2 separate regions of the Homo sapiens genome follow, and region 2 is linked to region 1. The links are contacts of gene promoters, found by promoter capture Hi-C in blood cells and fetal thymus (Javierre and others, 2016). All regions are on one chromosome and are shown on one strand. Each heading gives the region's core, a stretch centred on a gene start or on the middle of the fragment in contact. The rest is flanking DNA. Distances are from core to core; before and after follow the strand shown.

Evidence for each region. Contacts are between HindIII fragments. The CHiCAGO score rates a contact against its expected background, and 5 or more counts as called.
Region 2: a contact is called between the fragment with the promoter of RCSD1 here and the fragment with the promoter of ILDR2 in region 1, in 4 of 17 cell types (fetal thymus, activated CD4 T cells, naive CD4 T cells and 1 more). The highest score is 12.6, in fetal thymus.

What each region holds. Positions count from the first base shown.
Region 1 is chr1:166,972,292-166,979,267 of GRCh38, reverse strand. It overlaps ILDR2 (immunoglobulin like domain containing receptor 2), which reads left to right and starts at 3,728. Exons shown (of 10, transcript NM_199351.3): 1 at 3,728-4,045. The coding sequence starts at 4,000. It overlaps LOC124904449 (a long non-coding RNA gene), which reads right to left. Exons shown (of 3, transcript XR_007066714.1): 3 at 6,521-6,976. It also overlaps a transcript of MAEL not described here. RefSeq lists silencers at 3,309-3,358, 3,479-3,768, 3,829-3,878. The HindIII fragment of the contact is 7,595 bases long and covers 1-5,208 here.
Region 2 is chr1:167,626,534-167,633,509 of GRCh38, reverse strand. It overlaps RCSD1 (RCSD domain containing 1), which reads right to left and starts at 3,278. Exons shown (of 7, transcript NM_052862.4): 1 at 3,081-3,278. The coding sequence starts at 3,086. RefSeq lists enhancers at 2,492-2,561, 5,080-5,129, 5,140-5,309, 5,390-5,449 and silencers at 3,102-3,321, 3,342-3,421. The HindIII fragment of the contact is 3,174 bases long and covers 1,682-4,855 here.

The DNA of each region.
Region 1 (6,976 bases), core at 2,479-4,978:
CTTACATGAGAAAAATGGTATCTGTTTCAGAGTCATACTTCGTATATTCCTCTTGGAATGCAGGATCAGAGAGGAGAAGTAGAAATATGATTTTATCTGTGTGCTTTAAACAGACTCACGTTAAGCAGTATTCATGTGCATGCATGCCTGTGTGTCTGCAATGAAATCATGTTTTAAAGAGGATTCAGCTACATTATATTTATAACTATGTGGTTGCTACCAGCTACCAGTATGTCTCCTTGTGGTGGTTCACTTCTCTTTTCTCTGTGTCCTAATTCTGTTCTCTAGTGTAGAGCTTTGCTGAAGCAGCCTGTTAGTCCCCCCACCACATACAATCCCAGCTGTGGCTTCCTGGGAATCTTGTTCTGGTCCCATACAGGTCATTGTTGTGACATGTTTGTCTCATTGCAGTAGAAAGTTTGAAGTATTGCAGAGCCAGACCCCTTCCTTGGCTGTGATGAATCAATCTCTCTATTTGGGGTCCTGTCCTATTAGGTCAGAATGAATGAACAACTGGAGCTTAACCAGATACAAGGCTCATTAGAAAACATCAGCTCAACAGCTTCTCAGGAGAACAAAAAGATAGGTATTGCTTCTTAAACATTACTGTGCATTGGAAGCACCTGGGGAAAGTGGTTAAACTGCAGATTTATGGGCTCCACCTGGAGTTTCTGAGCTCATTATTCTTAGTAGAGCCTGTGAATCTGTGTTTAAGCAAACACAGTAATATGATCCTGATACTGGAAGTTCAGAAACCACATTGGGACTCTGGGTGCCATATCCCATCACCCACCACCAATATGGCAAAATAACACCATTTTCCCATCCTCTTTCCACCTCCATCCCTTAGGCTACATGTTTTGAATCATTACATATATTTCAAAATTTATATTAACCCTTCATCACCTTGGTAACAACATGTGCAAGGTGATGGAGGGGCACACATTGTGATTCACTCCAGTTTAGCATCCCCTTCAGGATGGCCTGGGCGCCACTCACTCAGGAAGATTCAGGATACACCATGTGTACCTCTCTGGCTATAAAGTAGACATGCAGGGCACTACATGGAAAACACATTTCTGGGATGATGGACAAGGCAACTGCATTCTATGATTCATTGTGGCACAAGCTCTTCTCCAAGTCTCCTGATTCAACTACACAGACACCTCCTCTGAGCAGACATGAGTTCATTTCTGTGGGCATTCACGTTCCACTTCATATACACATCCAGGCTTCCTTCACTCAGTCCATCTCCCATTTTTCACATGTATAAACTTGCTCATATGTCCAAGTTTTGCATAAAATGCCATTTTTTTTGAGACAGGGTCTCACTCTGTCACCCAGGCTGGAGTCCAGTAGCGTGGTCACAGCTCACTGCAGCCTCAACCTCCCAGGTTCAAGTGGTCCTCCCATCTTAGCCTCCAGAGTAGCTGGGACTACAGGTATGTACAACCACGCCTGGCAATTTTTGTATTTTTTGTAGAGATGGGGTTTCACCATGTTACTCAGGCTGGTCAAATTCCTGAGCTCAAGCAATCCGCCCACCTCAGCTTCCCGAAGTGCTGAGATTACAGGTGTGAGCCACTGCACCTGGCCAAAATGCCACTGTTATGTGTGCTTAGATAATAAACACTATTCAAGCTCTTTTGTGCACTGTGACACACACACATAGATGCAGTAAATGGCACAGCATAATACAAATATATCATCTCAATCTTCTGGTGTAGATGTTCTTTTTGTGGTGCAAACAGTATATGCTTTAGAGTCAGATTCAAATCCTAGCTCTGCCACTTACTAGTTGCCTGATCTTAGAGAAGTTAGTTAAATGCTCTGGGCCTAAGTTCCCTCTTTAGGGTTAAATGAGAAGGTTTGTTAAACATGTAGAACTCTGCCTAGAACCTAAAGGAAACCCACAAGTGTTAGGTACCTCCTATATTTTTATTTTTCTGTATATGAAAGGAAATAGTCCTCAAATTTCTCTCATGCAGTACATAGCATGAAAAAATCATCCTGGCCAAAATAAGCAAAGAAAGAGTTTATGAAAGGATATTGGGTGGCTCAAAGAATTGCTGGGGAAGTGAAGAGCCAAGTGTAGAAGAGAGGCTAGAACCCAGAGAGCCTGCAAGACCACAGCCAAAAATCACACCTTGGAGCATCCTGGTGGCTTGACCTCTGCCACAGCTGATCATGTACACTGGATGCTGCTGCTGCCTCAGTGACAAAATCAATTCTCCACTGTCCTTGTTTCTTATATCCACCACTTGCTCCAGAATCAAAAAGCTCTGAGGGAGAGGTCAGCCTGGCTATGCCAGGGGCCCGGGCCTGCATTCCAGCTGGGATGGTCAGGGAGGTGGCTCTAGACTTTCTGGCTTCTGCAGTTGGAATTTCTCAGAATAAGAAGGGAATTGAGATGTCAGGCAGCCATAAAAGACAGCTGCCCAGGGTCTATTCTTCCCATTTCTCACATGTTCACATACATATTCTCCCTGTCTGTGTACACATTCACTCTTAGGTGTGGAGTCTGTCTGCTCCAGGAACTCCCCTCCAGCCTGGCACCACTCTGTTTTCAGATGCTACTTGAGACCTTTCTGCTATGTCTCTTTCCTCTGCCCAGAATGCCCTCGCCTGCCCCCTTTCCACCAGGGATCCTTGAATGGCTCAAATCTTGTGCTTTCTGCAAATGCCAGCTCAGATGTTACCCCTCCTTTATCGTGGTGCCCCCTCCCCACCCACGACTAACTTAGTCCTTCCTCTATGTTCCCAAGGCACTTTCTCTATGTCTCCATTATTGCACTTGCCCCGTTTTACTAGGAATAAGTATCATGTCTTTAATGGTCTGACCTTCCTCCCTTTCCTCGACCCAAGATGAGGCTCCTAAGGGCAGGAAGTCTATCTCATTCCACTTTGTAACCTTAGTTCTTAGCACCTAGTAGAGGCTTCATAAATATATTTCTTAAGCAAATCATACATTTCTCAGTTCTCTCTCAACACATACATTTTGAGACACAAGACAAATCCGTCTGACAAATAGGAATAATCCATGTGAATGCGTGCTGGAATCTATAAAGTGTTGGATGGATTTAAGCCGTTATAATCATTTATCTCATTCTGGTTTTACATATTTTCTGTTAAAGGGCCGGATGCCCTTATTCTACCTCATATTTTAACAGGAAAAAGTAATGACGCGAGATTCCCGCCTACCTTTTTCAATTCTGCGGAGCCTCTTGCCTGGTTCCTTGCACTGTCAAAAAGGAAACCAGACGGAGGGGCGGGGGTACCGCAGAAGCGAACATTCTAGCCTAGAGGACTTGCTAGTTAAGTCCTGTAAGAAGTTACGCCAAGTCCCCGCCGTCCCCCACCCTCGCCGCTGTCACTCTCTCCCCGTTCAGGTTGGCTGTGGCTGCCCGCAGACACAGGCTCCCCTGCTCGAGTCCCCAGCCAGCGTTCTCGCCCGGGTTCCCGAGCGCGGGCGTCCCTGGGAGAAGCCGCGATGGTCGCTCCCCGCTCGGCGCGGCCCGCGGGGCGGCCTCCCCCGCGCCTCTCGCTGCCTGCCACCCAGAGACCCCCTCTCTCCGCGTGGCCTCAATCACTCCACGCTGACCTTTGGGCCGCCGGGGGCCAGCACGTGACCGAGAAACTTTGGCAGTCGCGGCAGCGGGCGGCGGGGCGGAGGCGCGGGAGGCGGTGCGGCGGCCGAGCTCCCCCGCGCGGCGGGCTCTGCGGCGGGGAGACGCTCGCCCCGTGCCGCGCTGCCTGGGCATGCGGATGCGCCGCCGAGCGCTGCGCGGACCCCGGAAGCCCGCGGCAGCGCGCGCTCAGCCGGCGGCGCGATCCAGCCCCCGGCCCCGCCTGCGCGGCCGGCCCGGCGGGCGCTGCGCCCAGGGACGCCCGGTGCCCGCCGCTCCGCCGCCGCCCGCTGCCGCGGGGTGACAGCGATCCTTCTGTTCCAGCCATTTCCCACTTTCCTCACTCCGTAATTCGGCTGGGAAGTTGGGGAAGATGGATAGGGTCTTGCTGAGGTGGATTTCTCTCTTCTGGCTAACAGGTAAGAGTCCTTTTCAACAGAAACGAATAACTTTGTATATTCCTGTAGTGGTTCTGTTCTCACCGCGCCCCCCGCCCCCCCATTTTCCTCCTTACTGACCATGTTTAAAGCTGCTTAGCGGTCTGGTGGAAAGTGGGGGAGGGGGCAACGTGTGTGTTTGTGTATGTGTTTGTGTGTGTGTGTGTGAGAGAGAGAGAGAGAGAATGATGGGGGCGGCGGGGGAGAAGCCCAATGACAAGTGAGACGCATCTAGATGCAGGTGTTTGACTCATTGGCGCTGAGGTTGTTCTTTCGAATGCATTTCCCCTCCATAAAACGGTTCTCCTTCGGTCTTATCCTGAGTTTGTAATGCTGTGAGTCTTGTGAAAAGCCTGGCTGGAATAAAGGAAGCTCAGAGGGAGCTGATTAATTAAATGAACTGGTTTTCTGGAGGTGGAGGCTAGAGGACTGTCTCCTTAATTTCTTCCCTAGAGAAGGAGGGGGACCCAGGGCATTCTCTCTGTGGCTCTCTGGAGGGTGCAAGGAACTGGAGGTTGGGAAGAAGATGGGGATGGAACCTTCACTGGTTGTGGAGTTTAGAGCCTGGCTCTCTCTTACTTGGTATCATTTGGGGAGTGGTCCCAAATGATAATTAGAAAGCAGAAGAGCCTTTCTAATAGGTGCACTCTCCGCTCCCTAAAAGATAATTTGCAGAGAGATTTAGAGGCATTGGGCTTCTCCCCAGCATCAAAGTCACTGGTCTAGCTGGGTCCTCTGTGCCCTCCCCTCCTTTTTGGTGAACTTTCTCCCCATTCTGCTGGGGTCAGTAGATGCTCTTGTTCTTAACCTATTTCCCCACATGAGGATTCCGATTCCCATAGGGATACAGGGCCTTGGGGTGGCCAGCCCTGAGAGATTCACAAAGCAGCCCTGCTGAAGGGAGTAGGATGGGGGTGAGGAATGTCTGGATAGCTTGGACTGGGTCAGAGGCAACCATTCAAATCAAGGTGGAGGCAGAATGATGGAAGAAATGGAAAAAGGGATCAGAAAGGTGAGGACAGGATGGGGGTGGAAGGCAGGAGAGAAAAGGGACAATAGTACCACATGAGAAGTTTTGTCACCTCTAGCATCACCAGCCAGAAGATCTGGACAAAATCAAGGCACTAGGCAAAGGGGAACAAGCTTAAAATAGCTAAAACAAGTCATGTAAAGGGGGTAAAATACATTTAGCAAGAAAAGGCAAATACCCCATTTCCCTTAGCTTCAGAATAAGATTCTTCATTGCCTAAATATTTTTCCCATTTCAAATGAAATGCCCCTAACATTGCCGTTGCCCCACTGCTGGGTTTAGGCTGGGGGAGGCATCCTCAGCAGAGTTAGCCTCTTCTTTTGGCTGCTTTGAGTTCATCCCTCCCACATTATTCAGATATGAATCATCTCTAATTTCAGGGTTTGGCTGATCCATGCCACCCCGCTCCCCTGGCCTCCCAGTGCCTTCCACTCCCACCCTCACTGATTCTTCACATCCTTAATCTGCCTCTACTCTCGGTTATCAATATTCTCAGGGCACTTAGTCCTTGAGCCTGTATCACAACAGCACTGAAGTCAGCCAGGCATCGGGGGGGGGGGGGAGGGGTCCCTGAGTCAGAGGTGCTCTTTACAGACACGCTGGGGTCTGCCTAAAAGAAGTACTCTGGGGGTTTGCAGGGAGTGAGAGAAGAAGGGAAACATAGAGCTCTCTTTAGATGGCTCACAGCTTTTTATGAAATGGAATCATATCACTGGAGGGTACTACAGGAACTGTAGTTCAGCCCTCTCAGTTTATAGAGATGGAGTCCTAGAGAGGCAATATGCACATAGCACGTTCATGATTGATTAGGGACTAGATTCCAGTTCTCTCAAACTCCAGACCAGTCTCATTTGCCCTCTCCTAAGCTGCCTCTCTGGGCTTTTTGCTGGAGGGCTTTTTGTTTTATTTTTGTTTTGAGGGAGGTGATGGCTTTGTCTGTGCCTTCTGCCACCTGCACCTGGAGAGGCTGTTCTGCTTGGAATCAGGCAACAGGTTAGTTATCAGGACCAGCTCAGCTGTCAGATGGCTGGGGATTCTTTGCTCCAAAAGTGAGACTGACTCCTGGGATCCCATTGATCATCCTCTGCTCCCTGCTCCTGCTTTCTCCTCATCCCATCACTGCTGTCAGAGGTGTGGACAGACAAGCTGCCTCTCAGCCTCAGCAAAGTAGAGGAGCAAACAATGGCGGCTGGGGAGGGGAGGGAGGAGACAGAAGCAGACAAGGAGGAGATGAATTCAGACTCATTCTTCACAGAGAACCATGAGACGAAAGGTGAGAAATTTTAGTCCAGCCCAATCAATGAATTCTCTTTTGAGGGGGTGGTAGAAAGGAAGGGAGACAGGGAAGAACAGATTAAAAATGAGACAGAGAGCCAGGAAAAAAACCACATTCATTCTTCCTCTCCCTCCCTTTCTCTCCCCACCATCTCTCTCCCACTCCCTCTCTATTTCTCCTCCTCTCCCTTCTCCTCCTGTTTCTCTTTTTTAATGCAAGCTGAGCGATTTCTAATCAGCACTTCAGTTTTTTCCTCCAGGCTCTAGCAGCTTCTTCCTTGTCTTTCATTACTAAAATTCTGTATGTCTTCCTGTTATATATTTAGCCTTGTGATTCCTTATTGCCATTGTGATGTTGCTTCCTGTAATATATTGGTTTTGTTATTGTTGCTGTTGTTGTTGTTATTTTGAACAAAACAAAATGCTTACCAGCTGCTATTTTAGCAACAGGTGCCATCTAGCAATAAGACTTGAAGGAGGGTTCACTCTGTCTTTGTTCCTGAATATGGGTGGTGTTTTATCCTTTCCTGGCAGCAGAGGCTGTGAGAAACGCTGGAGCTGTGTCGACACTCTGGGAACACACTCCTGGAGCAAGCGATGTGTTTTCC
Region 2 (6,976 bases), core at 2,029-4,528, 650 kb before region 1:
AGTGACCTTGGATTTATCTTATTACTTTCATTTTTTTCTGTTACTGCTTTCCTACCTTCCTTCCCAGCCAGCTGGACAAAGCTGGCATGTTCTCCCTGTGCCCATCCCTTATACCTTCTCCACCTTACCCACATCTTTCTTCCAAGGCTTCTTCTGAACCTAATCTAGTCTGAACTCCTGCAGAACTCATGATCTGCAGCAGTATTCAACTGGCATTTATGCATTTGAAGATTATATATGTGACAGGATATAGTCCCTTTATTGGGTTGTGAGCTTTTAAAAGGCAGGGATCAGATGGCATCTATACTTTGTTTATTCCACAGGGCTTTATGAGGGATGAAGATTGATGTTGTTGATAATGGTAACAGTGACTTTAAAAAAAGATCTCTCAAAGACTTCCAATAATACGTGAGCTTTAGAGAATGAATATTGAGTAACCCTCTTTGGTCTGGTTTGGATTCCTAGTACTGAGAAGTAATATAACTTAATTTCTTTCCAGATACAGTAGCCCTTTCATGTCCCAAAACTGAGTTTCACCTCTCAAAAGAGGGTTTTACTCTGAGATTTTCAGAAACCCCCAAATCCAACTCCTGCATATCATGCTTCACCATGAAAAGTTTACTTCCTGGCTAAGAATGGTCACTTCCCTGGCCCCTAGATTTCCTCTTTACTTTCTTCACTAGCAGTTGCATGTTGTTTTTTTGTTTGTTTGTTTCATTTTTGTTGTTTTTTGTTTTCCAGGCATTTGGACAAAGAAACTTCAAAAGCAGCCACTGTCCAACCAGCAAATTGATGGACTAGGCTTAGTGACCTACTGGATGTGAGACGCAGGGTGATTTGTCAGGCTTCTGGCTGGCTGAGCTATTCCCTCCCTGCGTCCCTCCCAAACCCTAGCACGGGAGTGATTTTGGTATCTTGGTGGAATCCTGCATAAGTTACTACACATCTCAATAAGGGAGGGCCTTCTCTTTTACTGCAATCCCCTCCACCCCCCAAGCCACACAGGAAGTTGCTCAGCTGATAGTTTCAGGGCCTCTGCCATACACTATTCCTTCCTCATCTGAGGGGGGAGAAACTGCCTCTGTGGAAGGAGACCCTCCTTGTTTTCCTAGAACAAAGTTGACACTTGCATTTGGCCCTCCAGCAGCAACCTGCTTGAAGTCTAAGAGTTGCTTTTCTCTTATCTCCAATCCTTTTCTTCAAGAGGTTAGACAGGCCATACATCATAGTGAATCTGCAGCCTGGGGCCTAAGGCAGTTTGTACACTTCCAGAAGAGGGAAGCCACTTCTAAAACAATTTCTTAAGGAGACTTCACCCAACCCAAGAAGCTGGGTGTTGCCTGGGCCATTTCCCTCCTCTGCCCTGAAGCAGTGGCCAGCTCAGAGAGAACCCTGTTGTTTTGTGTTTGTGTGATCTTTGGGTGGATGTGTGCACACCACCTGCTGAGCTTCGCTGTGTGCGTGCCTCACCGCCAGCCCTAATCTGCCAGAGCTTCCTGGCCTTGCAAATGTTTCTGTGGAGGGTCCATATTAGACTCCAGTGGTTCTTGCAGTCTATAAAGTCTCCTTGAAGGTGATTCCCTGTTCCTTGAAGACAACTGGCTGGGCTGGATGCCTGAATATAGCTCCCTGACTTCTCTAAAGGACAAACTTATTGCCCCTTTAGAGAAGTCATGAAGCTTTGCCGGCAAGCACAGAGTCTAGCTTAGAAAACACAACCAGGGCCAGGAGTGGTGTGGCTCATGCCTGCAAATCCAGCACTTTGGGAGGCCAAGGCTTAGAGGATCACTTGAGCCCAGGAGTTCAAGACCAGCATGGGTAATATAGTGAGAACTTGTCTCTACAAAAAATTTTAAAACTAGCCAGGCATGGTGGTACACACTGGTAGTCCCAGCCACTTGGGAGGCTGAGGTGGGAGGATCCTTTGAGCCTGGGAGGCAGAGGTTGCAGTGAGCTGAGATTGTGCCACTGCACTCCAGCCTGGGTAACAGAATGAGACCCTGTCTCAAAAGAAAAAAATAAAAAGACCACCAGGGCCCAGGCACAGAGCCTGGAGCGGGGAAGAGATAGCGGAGTTAACTGTGAATCCTGATTGCACTGACCACAGTCTAGTGAGCAACACATGTTTCCTTTTGAATATGAGTGGGAATCACCTTTAAAACTATATAACATTTGCATCTTCTCAAAAGCCCCAGGTCCTACTAAGATTGACTTAGGGCTACATATCAGGTCTCATTTTCAAGGAGGAAACACAGGGAAGCCTCAAGATGTGCAGAAGAGAGGGATGTGGGGAATACACCCAACCACTCCTCTGCTGAGGTTGGAACAGAACAAGGAAAGTCCCCGGACCTCCTCTCAGCAGGCAGAGAAGTGCGGGGCCTCCCTCTGGCAAAGCCTGCAGATGTGGCCAGCATACCTCCATACACACAGCTTCAGAGGCAAGGGTGTCCAAGGGAGTCTTAAGTTTTATCAGAAATAATGTCATTCGACTGACCAGTAAGGGGAGCTTTCAGAAAGTTATGGAAGAAGATGCGACAGACACAGGAAGGACTTCAGAAGCAAGAAGACAACTGGACTCTCTAAAATGCCACTCCGAAAGCGAAAAGGGAAGCCCACAGACCCACGAAGACGTGCTGGCCTCGTGTTGCCAGTTCTGTTTCTCTTTCAATACCCATCTCTTCAGATTGAAGGGCTTCTGCCTTCTTGCAGTTTTTGCTGACACGTTTACCCATTTACAAACCTTGGCTGCACCTAACTTTTTTTTTTTTTTTTTTTTTTTTTTTTTTTTAGCATTTAAGTTCCTAGCCAAAATACCCGGGCCTCTAGGAAAGCCCTTTTCTCTCCCTCTGAGATCTTTCCTTACCAACCCCAGCCTCCCAACCCGGGTGTCCTAGGTGGGACCAGGGACGATCCTTCGGAGTTGGTCAAGGAGGCGTCGGAACAGCAGGCATTTGCCCTTCTAGTTGGCAGCAGCGATGAGCCGCGTGCTCCATGCTCAGGGCAGGGGCAGCCGCCCGGGGAAGGGGCGCCCGATACACCGCTCACCGCTCAGCCCCGCGTCTCCCTCCGGGGTCCTTTACCTCCATGTCCTTCAGGTGCCGACTCTGCGGCAGACGCACCCGCTCGCCCGGGCCGGAGCTCACGATCCCCGCTGTCCCCTCCGCTCCCGGCCGTGGCCAGTTTCGGGCTGCGGCGGGCACAGGGCGAGTGGGCGGTGGCGCGCGCCCGGCTGCGCTCGGCTGCGGGACTGCCCCGGCCGCGGGGGCCCTGCGCGAGAGAACGAGGAAGGAGGAGGAGGGAGGGAGGGAGGAAGGGGAGGGGAGGGGAGGGTGGGGAGCGGGGAGGGAGGCCGACGATCAGGGTTTAAATTTAGACGCAAATCTAAACAGATACTGTCCCTCCCAGGGCAGGACTCAAGAGCGGGAGCCACGACTCCATGTGCCCAAACATGGGGATGGGCAGCCACCGGGCCCCTCTGTCTCGCGAAGTTTCTCAGGACCCTGGGCTTTGCCACGGTCTCAGTCCTTCTCAACGTCTCCCTCCCTTAATGCGCCTTCTTTCTTTTTCCTGTCCCTTCAAGAATTAGAGTGGTCCTTTAATTCTTTTTGTTTCCTCTCTTTTCGATTTCCTTCTTTTGTGTCCATCCTTCCTGCTTTCCTTCTTCCTCTCCCTCTTTTTAAAATTGCATTACTGTCATACCTGGTTTCCCTGCAGTTCTTGGGTGGAGTTCGAGGACCCTCCCTGGTGGAAGGCGTTTGTGTTCTACCAAAAGAGGAGCCCTTCTGACCGAGGCTTCAGAGCTCAGCGTGGCGCCGACGGGACCACCTTTCCCTTCTCACCTCTTTTCCTCTCCACCTTCCAGGAAACCACTATCTATCCATCTATCCATCTATCTTCTGTATACGAGTAGAAGGAGGAGGAGGAGGAGGAAAATCAGGAATCCACGCAAAGTTTTCCAAGCTCCCTGAAGTGGTAAATCTTTTCTTCAAACCTTGCTTTGACTGATGCATTCGGTTTTGTGGGAATTTTGGCTCCCACAAGCTGCTTGCTAAAGGGCCTCGTCTCCATTCCTGTTAAATATAGCAAAGGGCAAGATGCTCAACATCTGATTCCCATAGGGCCCAGCATAGCAACCTTCCTTTAGGGCCATCCCGGCTGGGCAGCAGAGACCGCATGGGAGGGATTCGGGGACTGGAATCTGCACCAGGGTCACTCCCTGCTACCCGGATCCCGGCCCCCTTCAGACCCTTCGGCAGAGAGAAACAGGAAAATGCCTTGAGAGACCTGTGAGTGCCAGGGTATTGGCTGGGTATATGACGCCTCTGGGTTATCCCACAGCATTCTCACCCGCCCAACCCCAGCTCAACCAGGGGAGGGGAGCCCCATCAGAGGTGGGCAATGGGACAGGTGATGGTGAGCACTGTGAAGAGACATGTGGAGAAACAGTAGAGAAAAAAGGCTGAGAGTCTGCTCCTGCTACAAAGACTACCCTGATTCTGGTTATCCCGGCACCATCTTTGCACTTTCAGGCACTTAGATTGCTGCTTTGGGTACCAGTCTTAGAAATATGGCCTCCTTCCTGTCCTAGAACTTTCTAAGGCCCAACTTTCTAAAACACTGGCAGCCCTAATGCCAGAGTGGCTTCTAGTTCTTTAGCTTAGCTAAGCATAGAGGAAGACGCCTGGTTTTAGGAACAGACAGATTGAGGGCTGAATTCCAGCTCTGCTACTTTCTAGTTGTATTTTTTAGACAAGTCACTTAACTGCTCTGATTCTCATTTTCCTCACCTATACAATGTAGTAGGCACTCTGCAAAAAGTGGCTGTTTTTATCATGCTTAGCCCCATGTACAAGCTTCAGATGAATAAGAGCCTGATATTTCTTTTATTTAGAGACAGGCACTCGGGGACCCAGTGAAAAGAGCCCTCACTCCCAGGAATTAATAGTGAGGCCCCTCCCAGTCCAGCCACATGGCTGCTCAGGTGAAGACTCGAGAGCAGAGTCGGCAGTAAGGAAGGGTATTTACTGGTAACCTGCAAGGCACACTTTTGCTCGTGCTTCTTTCCTTTCTTTTTAAAGGTGCAGGACGTAGTGATGACTGCATAGTCTACTATCAGGTCTTCTAACTCTGCTCCACAGGGCCTTTTCCTTTCTCCCTCTACCTAGTCCTCCTTTGTGCTCAGAATGGGGCTGCCCCAGCACAGGTTTCTGGCTTCACAAACAGGAGGGCGGAAGTGCTTACCCAGAGGAAACCGTTAGGCCTAGATAACATCAGTCACCCAAGGTGACTTGCAGCTGCTCCCCACGCCCTGCTTAGGCCTCTCTTGGCTGAGAACAGATGACCACAAAGCAAACAAGCTTGGCCTCCACCATGCTCCTGGGTCCCCAGTGCAGAGTTTAATGCTGCTCCAGAGCTATTTGGGCCCCAGACTGGGACTTCTCCTGAGGGAGGGGGTGGAAAACGGGGAGGGAGGGACCAAGAGGTAGCCCCGAGCTGTGTTTAGGCAGCCATGAGTAGGTGTGGTGTGTGTACTCCCCTTATCTTCTTCTTCTGTCCCTACAGAAGATCTCCAGGAGCCAGAATAGCAGTAACTCTGCTGATAAACACCCAGGTTTGCTGGGTTATCTGGGATTGTAACTGGCTGCTCTGGGGGCTGGGAGGAAACAACAGCCCAAGGGGAAGGGAAAGTGACTTTCCGAGGAGTTGGTTCCCCTCTCTCTCTGGAGGTCTGGCTGGCTAACACGGAACCACTTCCTTCAGTCTACCCTGGGCCTTCCCCTTCATATATCCTGATAGCCAGAACCAGCCACGCAATAAGTAGAGGTCATCAGGTAACTAACAATAAAAACACCAGGCTGGGCTCATGCCTGTAATCCCAGAACTTTGGGAGGTGAGGCAGGTGGATCACAAGGTCAGGAGTTAGGGACCAGCCTGGCCAACATAGTGAAACCCCATCTCTACTAAAAAAATACAAAAATTAGCTGGGCATGGTGGCGTGTGCCTGTAATCTCAGCTACGCGGGAGGCTGAGGCAGAAGAATTGCTTGAACCTGGGGGGCAGAGGTTGCAGTGAGCCAAATTCTTGCCACTGCACTCCAGCCTGGGTGACAGAGCCAAGACTCCGACAAAAAAAAAAAAAAAGGCCAGGTGCAGTAGCTCACGCCTATAATCCCAGCACTTTGGGAGGCCGAGGCAGGCGGATCACGAGGTCAGGAGTTTGAGACCAGCCTGGCCAACATGGCAAAACCCCGTCTCTACTAAAAATACAAAAATTAGCTGGGCGTGGTGGCATGTGCCTGTAATCCCAGCTACTTAGGAGGCTCAGGCAAGTGAATTGCTTGAACCCACAAGGCAGAGGTTGCAGTGAGCCGAGATCGTGCAGCTGCACTCCAGCCTGGGCAACAGAGTGAGACTCCATCTAAAAAAAAAAAAAAAAACAAAAAATAAAAAAACAAGAACACCAGAGATACAGCTCAGCCAAGGGAGGGGCGTATGGGGAGGTATGGGGAGGAGCCAGGCATATAGAAGGCCCTCAATAAATATTTAGTGAATGAGGCCAGGTGGTAGCTCACACCTGTAATCCCAGTGCTTTGGGAGGTGGAGGATGGTTTGAGCCCAGGAGTTCAAGGCTGCAGTGAGCACTCTATCCTTGGCAACAGAACAAGACCTTGTCTCTAAAAAAATAAAGTAAAATAAAAATAATTTGGCGAATATGTGCGTGAATGAATGAACAAGTGAAGCAAATTAGGATCTTTCCCTTTAAGTCAGAGACAGAGTCTTTCAGAGATGGGTCTCCCATGGAAATAAGGACCCAGTGGGAGAAAAGATCATGAAAGGCCACAATAAGTAGTAACTTAATTAGCTTTCAAGCAGAATTGCAAAGAGGTCTAATCAATCAGCTGTTTATAGTGGACACACTGTACTGCTGATCATCTATTTTAAAAATGAAGAGCAAGAAGCAAATATTCTTTTACGAC